2 separate regions of the Homo sapiens genome follow, and region 1 is linked to region 2. Evidence: promoter capture Hi-C in human tissues and cell types (Jung and others, 2019). All regions are on one chromosome and are shown on one strand. The core of a region is centred on a gene start or on the middle of the fragment in contact, and the rest is flanking DNA. Distances in the headings are between cores, read along the strand shown. Region 1 overlaps BCL2L14 (BCL2 like 14). Region 2 holds the start of TAS2R19 (taste 2 receptor member 19).

Evidence for each region. The method cuts DNA at HindIII sites, captures the fragments that hold promoters and counts their contacts. A contact is called where the count stands out against the background at its distance.
Region 1: a fragment that was not itself captured here is called in contact with the fragment with the promoter of TAS2R19 in region 2 in 1 of the 25 tissues and cell types used here (stomach).

Annotation. Positions count from the first base shown.
Region 1 is chr12:12,076,107-12,082,844 of GRCh38, reverse strand. BCL2L14 (BCL2 like 14) reads right to left here. Exons shown (of 6, transcript NM_138723.2): 2 at 3,107-3,546. The coding sequence starts at 3,539. Among named protein-coding and RNA genes, the nearest start is that of BCL2L14, 8.5 kb to the right of the region's middle. RefSeq lists a silencer at 716-1,010. The HindIII fragment of the contact is 3,043 bases long and covers 314-3,356 here.
Region 2 is chr12:11,020,090-11,026,976 of GRCh38, reverse strand. It overlaps TAS2R19 (taste 2 receptor member 19), which reads left to right and starts at 4,357. Exons shown (of 1, transcript NM_176888.2): 1 at 4,357-5,358. The coding sequence starts at 4,406. The coding sequence ends at 5,305. All of the region lies in intron 3 of PRH1-TAS2R14 (PRH1-TAS2R14 readthrough), which reads left to right. All of the region lies in intron 3 of PRH1-PRR4 (PRH1-PRR4 readthrough), which reads left to right. It also overlaps a transcript of PRH1 not described here. The HindIII fragment of the contact is 6,813 bases long and covers 1-6,762 here.

The sequences.
Region 1 (6,738 bases), core at 586-3,085, 1.1 Mb before region 2:
AGTAAAAAACACACAATTAACTGACTAAATGCAAGCGTGAGGAGAAAGGTGATAAGGGAAGATAAGCTGTAAATATGTGTTTAAAGCCTTCTTAGGAGGTAATCATTTTTCATTTTTTATGGAGAATATTATTCAGCCATAGGTACTATTCAGCTATTCAGCACATTAACACATCACCTAAGTGTTTTTGAATGTAATCTTTAATTCTCAATCTCACATAAAAGTTTTCTTTCCCTACTGAAAAAAGAAATAAAAGCTTCTCTTGAAATTTTAGAAAATAAAAAAAATGTCAAATGACACTCCAGTAAATACTGAAATACAGAATGCAATTTATCTCAGGAAAAACCAGAAGACTAAGGTCTGTAAAAGCTTTCTCTGTCTGCTGGCAAAGTCCACAGTACAGGCCAAGTAGAAAAGCCTATTTAGGTGCCTCCAAACTGTTCTTTGCCCCAGAGCCCAGATGCCACCCCCGGCAGAAGAAGCCATGGCTGGGTGAGGGCAGCTGAGGGGTGGGGAGGCAGATGTGGAGGGAAGGACCACAGGGGGCCGCTCCCTCTTGCCCTAGACCTGCCCTAGCTGGGCAGAGTTCAGAGAGCAGATGCCTTGCTGTAAAAATGAAACAAGTCTAGGGAGAGGCCTGGACTTCTGGTGAGTCCAGGCTCTGCTACTTCCTGGATGTTTCCTTGGTAAGCCCTTTTTGTGGGACTCCCATTTCCTCATCCTGTCTGTGCCATGAGGTTCCCTCAGATGATCCTGACCATAACTCCCACTGTTCTAAACATCTGAAACTCTAATGGGAAAAGGGAGTTTCCTTGATCATAGTGAGTGATCTAAAGCTGTCTATGAGTGGGCTGATTCTCCAAGCAAGCCAGGACTGTCACATTTAAAAACTGAGACATTACTGCCACCTCTTGACTAATTATTGACAAGTTACCCAGGCCAATGAAACTCAGCAGGAGGGGGCCTTTCTTTTAAAATCTGGCTTTGCGGCTGGGTGCAGTGGCTCACACTTGTAATCCCAGCACTTCGGGAGCCCAAGGTGGGCAGATCACGAGGTCAGGAGTTCGAGGCCAGCCTGACCAACATGGTGAAACGCTGTCTCTACTAAAAATACAAAAATTAGCCAGGCCTGGTGGTGCGCGCCTGTGATCCCAGCTACTCAGGAGGCTGAGGCAGGAGAATTGCTTGAACCTGGGAGGCGGAGCTTGCAGTGAGCCGAGATTACACCACAGCACTCCAGCCTGGGCGACAGAGCAAGACTCCATCTAAAACACCTTAAAAAAAAAAAAAAAATCTGGGCTTTGGGCACTGGGCTTTGTTGAAGGGGAAGAAGATGCTTATGCCAAGGTGTGCGCATGAAGGGCAACTGTCTTTTTTTTTTTTTTTTTGGAGACAGAGTCTCATTATGTCACCCAGAGCTGGGGTGCAGTGATGTGATCTTCGCTCACTGCAGCCTTGACCTCCTGAGCTCAAGTGATCCTTCCACCTCAGCCTCCATAGTAGCTGGGACAACAGGCATGTGCCACCATGCCTCGCTAATTTTTTTATTTTAATTTTTTAATGGAGACAGGGTCTTGCTATGATGCCAGGCTGATCTCAAACTCTTGGTGTCAAGTGATCCTCCTGCCTTGGTTTCCCACAGTGCTGAGAGTATCGACGTGATGGGCTCTCACTCTGTCACCCAGGCTGGAGTGCAGTGGCATCATCTTGGCTCACTGCAACCTCTACTTCCCAGGCTCAAGCCATCCTCCCACCTCAGCCTCCCGAGTAGCCAGGACCACAGGCGTGCACCACCATGTCTGACTAATTTTTTTGTATTTTTTGGTAGAGACAGGGTTTTGCCATGTTGCTAAGGCTGGTCTTGAACTCCTGAGCTCAACCGATCCACCCACCTTGGCCTCCCAAAGTGCTGGGATTACAGGTATGAGCCTCAGTGCCTGGTGAAAATGTTTCATTAAGTACAATTAATTTTGTCCAACTGAGGGAAGATTTTGTCTAAATGCTTCTCAGTTGTTTTTGTAGGATGGTTTGTACTTTGTCAAGAGTCCTTTTACTCTTGCTCTCTGATCTTCCCATCAACCATACGAGGTGGAGAGAGTGGGGTACCCAATGTACAGATGGAAACACAGAGGCCCTGAGCGAATGAGTTGACTTAGGAAGAGCAGCGGCCCAGGCAGCCCAAGCAAGCCCCTGGTTAGGGCTCGTTCTTTTTTTTTTTTTTTTTTGAGACAAAGTCTTACCCTGTAGCTCAGGCTGGAGTGCAGTGATGCAATCTCGGCTCACTGCAACCTCCGCCTCCCAGGTTCAAGCGATTCTCTTGCCCCAGCCTCCCGAGTAGCTGGGAATACAAGCATGCGCCACCATGCCCGGCTAATTTTTTGTATCTTTAGTAGAGACGGGTTTTCACTATGTTGGCCAGGCTAGTCTTGAACTCCTGACCTTATGATCTGCCCACCTCAACCTTCCAAAGTGCTGGAATTACAGGCATGAGCCACTGCGCCTAGCCTCCTTCTTTTATATTGGTGTCTGGTACAGAGGACTAGGAATTTGGGAAACAAGCTTATTTATAGACAGTGGAGAAAGAAAACCAGTCCCAGCACCCTTAACTTCCATCATTTCCTTTTAGTCATTTTTTTTTTTTTGACGGAGTCTCACTCTGTCACCCAAGCTGGAGTGCAGTGATGCCATCTTGGCTCACTGCAAGCTCCGCCTGCTGGGTTCACGCCATTCTCCTGCCTCAGCCTCCCGAGTAGCTGGGACTACAGGCACCCGCCAACACGCCCGGCTAATTTTTTGTATTTTTTAGTGGAGACGGGGTTTTACCGTGTTAGCCAGGATGGTCTCAATCTCCTGACCTCATGATCCACCCGCCTTGGCCTCCCAGAGTGCTGGGATTACAGGCGTGAGCCACCGCGCCCAGGCAGCAACTCCTTTTAGTCTTGAGAAAAGCAGGGCAATTATGATTGAACACTAATAAGTTGGAAAGCTGAGGCACAACGCATGCCTTCTCTAAAGCCACTTTACAACATGAGAAGAGATGTACCACTCTGGACACAAAGAAGGGAAAAACCAGGAAGCGGGAGAGAAAGAAATCCCAGATGCCTACCTTCATGCTCCAAGCACTGCTCCACGTTAGAAAGACACCTGGACCACTGCTGGCTGTGCGAATCTTGGTATTCCAACGTCCTTTGACCCTGAGCAGAGACCTTGGCAGGCGTGCTCTGCGAATCTTCCTTCTCCACTACTCCAAAGAATGCTTTCCAAGAAGACTTTTTCTTGCCAAGGTTTATGGCCTTCTCACTGGATTGGGAATTTCTGCAAGGCCATGACACCTCTGTCCATGACTCATTTGCTGAACAATTCCCCAGGCCCCTCTGGGACAAACTTCTTGTTCTCAGCAGCTTTGGTGAGAAGAGAGCAGGGGTGCTCTTGAAGACATGATGTCTGGTGTAGTAGGCGAGGATTTTGAATTCTATGGTGTTTAGGTCATCATCATCTAGGGGGATTTCTTCCAGGTCACACCCACTGGTGCTACACATGTTGGGCCTGTAACAACAAAGTCCACACTGTGCCCTTCTATGCAGGGCCACTTACCCTTTGCAGGTTAGGAGAGACAGGGGTGAAAACTCAGGAAACATTTATTGAACATCTATTGTGTTTGTGCTGGAGGGTAGAGAGGGAAAAGCCACAGTCTTACTAGGGTGGGAAGAGAGACATGGCCATAGATAACTCCACATAAAGAAAATGAACTGCCGGGTGCGGTGGCTCACGCCTGTAATCCCAAAACTTTGGGAGGCCAAGGCGGGCAGATCATGAGGTCAGGAGTTCAAGACCAGCCTGGCCTATACAGTGAAAGCCCGTCTCTACTAAAGATACAAAAATTAGCCAGGCATGGTGGCGCACGCCTGTAGACCCGGCTACTTGGGAGGCTGCGGCAGAAGAATCGCTTGAACCCAGGAGTCGGGGGTTGTAGTGAGCTGAGATTGCGCCACTGCACTCCAGCCTGGCGACAGAGTGAGACTCCGTCTCAAAAAACAAAAAACAACAGAGAGAGAATGAACTAATGAACTAAGTAAGAGGTCTAACAGAGATGCAGATAGCCAGGTTAGAAGGCAGGGATAGGTGAGCTTCAAAGAAAGAGGCAAGTGAAAGCTTTTGGAAAGCTAGAAGGAGTTAGACAGGTGGGTGGATATTGGGGCTACAACAGGGCGGGCAGAGGGGAGATTATAGGTGAATTCAGAATGTGTTTGAAGAGTGGTGAGAGAACTGGGACAGCATACGTATGCAGTTTGCAAATAGCCAGGGCTTGAAAATAGTGGAGGGAAAATAAGTGAACTAGCACTTGGGTCCAGATTATGGTGGTCTTTGACTATCAGGCTGAAGCTTCGCATTTTCTCACGTTGATCAGTACATTTCAAAATGAGCTGTGGACTGTGGAGTTAAAGGTCTTGCTGGGGAGGTGGCAAAAGAGGGAGGCCAATTCAGGGAAGAGAAATGCCTGGGACCTGACCCTTCCCTTCCTCGGTTCCTTCTCCCTCTACCCTCTGCTTTAGCTTGTCCCGGCTTCTCTCTCCTCTCTCTCTCTCTTTCTTTTTTCTTGCTATATTTGGTATGCCATGTAAGATTTCATCTGAAAAAAGCATCCTGTTATTTTATTTTACTTTTTACGAATTTGAAACACACTGATGGAGGCAATGGAGAGCTGTTCAAAGTTTTGAGTAGAGAGTGATGTGATCACAGGCATGTTTGAAAAAGATCAGTACAAGCACTAAAACAACAGGATGCAAGCATTTCTTCTTTATTTCCATACGAATAACAGGATAGATAAAGAACTGATTTTGTTCAATTTCCTTTGCTTGAGCTTACATGAAATAACTCCTTCTCTGGTTTCCTGCTAGGAAAGCAGTTCTTTTTGCTAATAATCTGTTTCCTTCTGCTGTCTGTTAAGGACTACATTTTCCTTTTAGTCTCAGATGCGAGAAAGCTCAGATCTACCGTGTGAAATGTCCCAGGCAGTGAGCGTATCAAGAATTAGCTTGGGCTTCTCAGTCTAACAGTCCCAAATTCAGATTGTGGCCATGCCAGTGACTAGTTTTGTGACCTGTGGCAGGTTACTCCATCTCTCCAAACATGAACTTCCTGCAGGCAAATTGTAAATAATAATAGTCATCTTGCAGGGATATTGTAAGGGTGTAAGATACACAAGAGAAGTTCCTGCACAGAACCTGGTTCAAAAGTGGTAGCTATGTTTTTTTTCTAGTTCAGCTGTTGTCCTAGGCCCCAGGCTCTCTTTTTTTTTTTTTTTTTGAGACTCAGTTTTGCTCTGTTGCCCAGGCTGGAGTGCAGATCATAGCTCACCACAGCCTCAACCTCCCCGGCTCAAGGGATTCTCTCACCTCAGCCCCTCAAGTAGCTGGGAACACAGGCACATGCCACCACACCTGGCTAATTTTTTTGTTTTGTCTTTTAGAGACAAGGTCTCGCTATGTTGCCCAGTCTGGTGCGAAACTCCTGGGCTCAAGTGATCCACCTGCCTCAGCCTCCCAAAGTGCTGAGATTACAGCCATGAGCTACCATGCCCGGCCTCAGGCTCTGTCTTAATATGGCTCTTAATAATGTTCCCTTCCCTTTCTGGTCCTAATTTAAGACGGTCTTTCGGCATGTAAGCTGCTGTGATGATAAAGAAGCTGCAGTAATATTAAGGGGACTGGCTGGCATGTTCCTCTTTTTCTTTCCACTGTACCTTGTCATACCAGGACCAAATGATAAAGAAATGGGACAGTAACTGCAGACAGGGTTTGAGGCAATGTGAGGTGGTACAGACAAGTTGGCCTGGGTGTCTGAAGGATGGATAGCCACGGCTGGCTCAGCTTCTAACCTGCAACATCCTTGGGCAAGTCACGCCACCTTTTTGTTCCTCGGTGTCCAAGTTGTTAGATAGAATAAGGATATTCTCTAACTTTTCCCCCTGGTTCTGCTATTGGAAGGAGGTGTAGGAGCTGAAATATCTCCCCTGAGGGCCTGCTGGATGCTGCCTTTTTCCATCACTGTCTCCTCTCCTTTACTTAGAAGAGGCTCACATTGGCTGATAGCGAAGCTGTTGATCTGAGGAACTGCTCCTTGGCCAGGCCCCAGGAAAGCAAGGGTCCCTGGCTAGGTGCGTTCTGATGGAAGTGAGCCTGGGAGGGATGCAGCGGGCTATGCTGCAACATCAGGTGATGCTGGAGGGGACAAAAATGGCCCTCCCAGTGCAGCAAAGGGCAAGTTGCAAAACCCACCAGACCAACTACACAGATACAATTATACAACTTCCAAGCCCCGCAAACCTCCCTCACATAACTGGATGTAAGCAAATGCTTGAGGAGTATGGCATGAAGTGGGGGTCATGACTGCAATCCTTCCTCCTCCTCTGCTGTTTCTTCACATTCCTGTCTTATTCCAGGGCTTGGACAATCTTTCTTCCCGCCACTGCTCCAATTTCACATTCACTTACATGCATTTCACTTACATGCAAATCGTTTGCTCTGTAAGGAGTCACGTCAGTGTCTCCTCGAAGGTCATGTTCCTTACTGCTTTTCCACTTACCCCTTCCCGCTCCCCAATTCCATCCAATCCCACCCTCCCCCATGCATTTTCCGGGCATCCCACCCTCCCCCATGCATTTTCCGGGCATCCCACCCTCCCCCATGCATTTTCCGGGCATCCCACCCTCCCCCATGCATTTTCCGGGCATCCCAC
Region 2 (6,887 bases), core at 3,108-5,607:
ATTATTAATATATTAAATAATCACGATGTTTTAAAAAATGTAAATTAAACAGAAGTGACATAGCCGTGATATAAAACAGTGACACAGTGTTATTATTATGATACAAGGCAAATTGTTTTGATTTTTCCTCATAATGGGTGTAGATTAAGAACCATTCAGCAAATCACAAGCCCAGTAAAAAGTACCAGAAGCTCTGCTCTGCTTAGTGAAGACAGCACATCCTGGAAAGCATTTGTGAGTGTTGATTTAAGTTTCTGGTAGTCTGCATTCATTCTATAACCCGTCTGGTTTTGATAGAGGCCAGATAGGTTTAGTGAATCGGCTTATAGAAAGGACTACCATCCCCTGTAACTTTCAAGTGTTTTGTCACGGCACTGACCAGTTCCATTCCTTAGGGAATGCGGTTATTATATTTTATATATTTTGTTGCCAGTAGAGGAGAATTTCAGAGGCTTCCCTTTGGTCCTGCTATAATAATGTCCTTTACTCTACAGTTCACGAAGAATGTGAGTCCTGCCGGCTGCCATACATATCTATTTCAATTATACTTTCAGGAAGAGGTAGTAACTACAAACTGATTAGCTCCACCTTGGAATGGACATGAGCCGAAGCTCTAGGTAGTATCTGACCTTCAAAAACTCCCCCTGCAGGCTGGATGTGATGGCTCATGCCTGCAGTCCTAGCACTTTGGGAGGCGAAGGTGGGAGGATCCCTTGAGAGCAGGAGTTCCCTTCACAACATGTGGAAACTCCGTCTGTACAAAAAATTTAAAAAATTAGCTGGTGTGTTGGTGCATGCCTATAGTTCCAAATACTTGGGAAGCTGAGGCAGGAGGATTGCTTGAGCGCAGGAGTTCCAGGCTGCAGTGGACTATGATCCTGCCACTGTACTCCAGCTTGGGTAACAGAGGGAGACTGTGTCTCAGAAGAAGAAAAAAAAACAAGTATAAGTTCTCACCGGTATCTTAAACATCAAGTAAAACAGTATCGAGTAAAACAAAAAACTAAAAACTCCAAAAGTCAAAAACACTTTTAAAAAGAACATGGTGTTAAGAGTAGTTTGTTCAGTTTCCCCATAGAAAATGATTTATGGAAGGAGAATAAAAGATTATTCTGAACACTAAAACAATAAGACTGAAAAAATGAATTATCAATATTGAGAATCCAATAGACAGAGTTAACCAGTTGGATACAGTACAAGAGAGAATAAGTGAATTGGAAGATAGCTACACAGAATGAAGCATAGAAGGGAAGAGATGGAAATACACAGAGCTAGAGGGTAACACATTGATGCTACAGACAGAACACCTAACATACTTCTGGAGTTCTGTAAGATTAGAGGAGAGAAAATAGAGCAAGAGAAATGTTGCAAGGATTTTTCCAAAAGGTATAAAATGTATCCCTGAATATATTTTTAGTAATCTCAAACTTCAGGCATGATAACTAAAACCAAATTAACATAAAATAATACAGGACGCAAAAGACCAATAGAAAATCTGAAAAGTAGCTAGAGGTAGAAGATAGAGTATGTTGAAAAGAACTGTATTCTAAATACAACCTGATTTTAACAGAAAACATGGAAGCAGGAATTCAATGGATTAATGGGAATCATGTCTTCAATGTGTTTCCAAAGAGTAGTAGACCTTCATAAACAGAAATTGAAAATGATATTTTTCAGATAAAATAAAATTACTGAAAATACAAAGTTGAACACGCAAGGAGCATTACAAATTAATGACAATCCATGCTGGCTAACACGGTGAAACCCCGTCTCTACTAAAAATAAAAAAAAATTAGCCTGGCGTGGTGGCGGGCACCTGCAGTCCCAGCTACTCCGGAGGCTGAGGCAGGAGAATGGCTAAACCCGGAAGGCGGAGCTTTCAGTGAGCAGAGATCGTGCCACTGCACTCCAGCCTGGGTGACAGGGAGACTATGTCTCAAAAAAAAAAAAAAAAATTAATGACAATGAAAACTAAGTGTGTAATTCTAAATAAATGTTGACTATATAAAACAATAGTGTCTTCTTGGATTGAATGTATAATTGATAAGATATATGCAAATAGCAATAAAGAGGCTGGAGATAAAGGTAACAGGAATAAATTTAGTCAAACTGTGTTTTGGGCTTTTCTATGTCTGTGAGAAGAATTTGAACATCATAATCAAGGACCCTGTAATTCTACACCCAGATATATATACACAGAGGAATTGTAGCAAATGATATGTGAAAGAATGTTCATTGTAGCATTATTCATAAAAGCTCAAAAAATAAGCTGTCCAAATATATATCAAATAAGGATGGATAAATAATTACAGTAAAATCAAAAAATGAAAAAAATATAGAGAAGTGAAAAGATATGGATCACATGTACATGCAATGATGGGGTTAAATTTTGGATACAAAATGTTGATTCCAGGAAGCCATGAATAAGAACATATAGGATTGCACCTATACATAGATCAAATCAGGCCAAACCAAGCTATTGAGTTTAGGGTCGAATACCTTATTGGTAAAGTATAAAGAATATTAAAAAAAGACCATCATAAATTAGGGATGTTGCTTATCACAGGAGACATGAAGAAAGGTGTAGGGAATTAGAAAGTGGCATTGAGGTAAACTTAGGCTCTTAGCAATGTTCCATGTCTTGCCCTACATGATGGTTACATGAGTGTTTATGACACATTGCTATGTTTTCCATTTTTGTTTTGGTTCATTTCTAAGTGTGCAGTCTAGCTATATGATAAAAATTATTAATTAGGAGAAATGGTCCATGAAAATTATTATTACTCTGCTCATTATATACTGAAGGGAAAAATCCACTATTTGTATACATTCATGTGTAACTCTAAGAGATTTTAAGTAGAAACTTTCTGATTTTAGTTGCAACTTTAGGAAACTTGACATGATGTTACCTGCCAACCACAGATTTCTGAATAGGTTTTTCTTTTAGGTTTAATTACCCACTTCATATGACAAAACTTGGACATTCTCTATTTTTTCCTTCGATCCTGAATTCCTGACACAACAATGGTGGGCATATTTCCCACACTCCTGATTTAGCAGAATACCTACATCACTTATGTTTTTCTGCAAGAGAAAACTGAGTTAGATAATTGTGTATCATTATGTCTTTGGATTACATTTTTCTAACCTAGGTTTGGTGGATGGCTCTGGTGATTGGAGATGGGCCACGTACTGCATCTTGCCGCTAGTTTGGCTGATTTAGGGTAGATAAGGCAGTGGCATTCTGACTCCATTAGTTTCTCTTTCTTCTTCTGGGAACAGTGTGCTAGCCAGATGATGTCCTCATGGTTAGTGGAAAAGAGCAGGAAACTTCAATATGGAAGCCATCTTAAATCTCTGTAAATTCTACTAATTTCCTGTTGACTGAAGCAAATTACGTGAGTGAATTCAGAGTCCAAGGTCAAGGTAGTCACCCTGCCTGAGGTGGGAGGGTACTGCAGGATTATGTGACAAAGAGTAGGGTACTTAGAAATATTTACAAAATTGCTGAACATTTTAATTAAATAATTAATGTTTAAACAAAACAGACTTGAGTGTAAATATACCAAAGGCCTAAGCTTGAGAAACATGTTTGATAAATATTATTCATTGTCTGACAGCCCTGAGTTGGAAAATAAGACTAATACCACCTGGATGAGTTCCTGGAAACTCATTTTCCATTTGGGGAATTATAAGAAAATAATTCCTTCCATGCCCTAAGGGTGTGAGTGCATGTGTGTCTATGTGTTTAGGAGCTTATTAACAATGATGTCATATCAATTTATTGGTTATCAGAAACCAGATTTTAAAGTGTATCAGCCTCCCAGGGATTTCCAAGATAATCTTGGATGATTTTGATAAAAGGTTTAGAATCTGGTATTTAAATCTGGCATAAAAATAAGTCCATATTGGTATGATCCTAGTTATGACCAAGCTCCTTTAACAATTTAGACATTTACTATATGATATATGTATTGGGTTTTACAATTTCCCTATGGAACAACTGAAGATGCTGTATACAAATTATGGAGAGGTTAAACAAGGAAAAAAATTGCAAAACAATGAAAAATAATATGCCTTTCTTTGCATACTAACACATGAGAATTCATTTTCCACTTCAACCTCAGTATAAAAAAGTACAGCATATAGCAAGGAGAGAATGTATATGAAGAGGAGTGAATTTGAGCTGTTTTGAGAATAATGACCTTTTCTATTTCTATAAAGACAGTTTTGAATTCATCTATTAGCATATGCTGGTGCTTGCCTGTTGACACTAGTCACTGAATTTAAAGGCAGAAAATGTTATTGCACATTTAGTAATCAAGTGTTCATCGAAGTTAACATCTGGATGTTAAAGGACTCAGAACAAGTGTTACTAAGCCTGCATTTTTTTATCTGTTCAAACATGATGTGTTTTCTGCTCATCATTTCATCAATTCTGGTAGTGTTTGCATTTGTTCTTGGAAATGTTGCCAATGGCTTCATAGCCCTAGTAAATGTCATTGACTGGGTTAACACACGAAAGATCTCCTCAGCTGAGCAAATTCTCACTGCTCTGGTGGTCTCCAGAATTGGTTTACTCTGGGTCATGTTATTCCTTTGGTATGCAACTGTGTTTAATTCTGCTTTATATGGTTTAGAAGTAAGAATTGTTGCTTCTAATGCCTGGGCTGTAACGAACCATTTCAGCATGTGGCTTGCTGCTAGCCTCAGCATATTTTGTTTGCTCAAGATTGCCAATTTCTCCAACCTTATTTCTCTCCACCTAAAGAAGAGAATTAAGAGTGTTGTTCTGGTGATACTGTTGGGGCCCTTGGTATTTCTGATTTGTAATCTTGCTGTGATAACCATGGATGAGAGAGTGTGGACAAAAGAATATGAAGGAAATGTGACTTGGAAGATCAAATTGAGGAATGCAATACACCTTTCAAGCTTGACTGTAACTACTCTAGCAAACCTCATACCCTTTACTCTGAGCCTAATATGTTTTCTGCTGTTAATCTGTTCTCTTTGTAAACATCTCAAGAAGATGCGGCTCCATAGCAAAGGATCTCAAGATCCCAGCACCAAGGTCCATATAAAAGCTTTGCAAACTGTGACCTCCTTCCTCATGTTATTTGCCATTTACTTTCTGTGTATAATCACATCAACTTGGAATCTTAGGACACAGCAGAGCAAACTTGTACTCCTGCTTTGCCAAACTGTTGCAATCATGTATCCTTCATTCCACTCATTCATCCTGATTATGGGAAGTAGGAAGCTAAAACAGACCTTTCTTTCAGTTTTGTGGCAGATGACACGCTGAGTGAAAGAAGAGAAACCCTCAACTCCATAGATTCACAAGGGGAGCATCGTGGGTCTTCTAGCAGAAAACAAACTGATGGTGTCTGGAACATTTTATATTTCTATCAGTTTTTCCATAGTGTTTGTATGTGAGTAATTTCAAAACAGATACCTAGAAAAGTCATATATATATTTATGGGTGTATATGTGTGCATGTGTGTGAATAACAACGTTGACCATAAATTATGAAGCTGAGTATATTTCACATATATAGTATTTATATTTTATTATAGTTCATTGTATAGTATTTCATTTGAAGAATTTATTATCTCTCTTTATAATTAAGAACGTACAGCTTTTATGAAGAAATCATTTCTCTTTTCCATTGTAATTTGTACCACATATATGTGCTTAACTATCATTGGTGAACCTCTAATTTTTTGGATGGTAAAGACATTCAATTTTAAATCAATGATAAGAATGGATCTTTGGGGTAGGTTTTATTTCATTATGAATTCTTATTTTATGCTTAGTAGAAAGCAAATAGAATTGTTGTTAGTTAATGATGCACACAATAAAATTGGAGTGAAAAACATATGTAGAGTAAATTTTGTATATGTATACCAAAACAGTACTAAAGAATACTAGATTTAATACCAGTATGTGAATAGCCTAGAATAAAAATCATTTCTATAATAGGAATGAAGAAACATGCTGATGATCATTTCAGTGCTGTTATAATTTTTTTATCTGTAGTTAGAAAAGTCATTGCTTCCACTTTTTGAATTAAAGGAAACCTTTTGTGAAGTTGACATCTGATGTCAAGTATTTCCATTTGTTTTTCTTAGCCACCTTGAGCCCCTGAATTTCCAATTTTCTCCTTTGTCTCCCATTCCTAATATTCCTCAAAAAAACTCAAATATTCTCTATCTTAAAAAAACAGGCCAATCAAAGGAGGGTATAGAAACTATAGAAGATAATCAAATGAAACTTTCCTCAAATGTTAAAAATTATGTAAAAATTACATAAAAATCTGTGAAATCTATATAATTGATAGGAAATGTATTAATGATATGTATTATTATAATGGTGTAAATGGTGAAATTACACAGTGTGTTGATGTATCCATTGATACCAAGTTCTATTATAAGAAGGAAATGTACAGCCTTGTTGAAGAGCTAAATTCTGTGTGACTGTGTTAATTCTTGGTGTTATGAAATTTTAACATTATTATGTAGAACTTAAAATAAGTTAACTCCACATCATATATATATCTATGTATCTATATCTATATCTATAGACATATATATATATATATATATATATATATCGCTTATCATACGTCCTCCCTAGTACAATGTAATCACCATAAAAAGAGAGGTCATATCTGTCTCGCTTTCTCTTGACTCACAGGACCTAAAAGCCAGCACAAAGAATAGTTGGTCAAAAATGATATGTTAATGAACACATAAGTGATTGGATAAATGGATAATTTGATGTGGTAAATCAGTGAAAATGAAGCTCATCATAAAATCTGCAGTTGCTTGAATTTTCTATTTTCAGGTTGAGGTTATAGGCTTTTTGAAGAAGAAGCATTTCTCAGA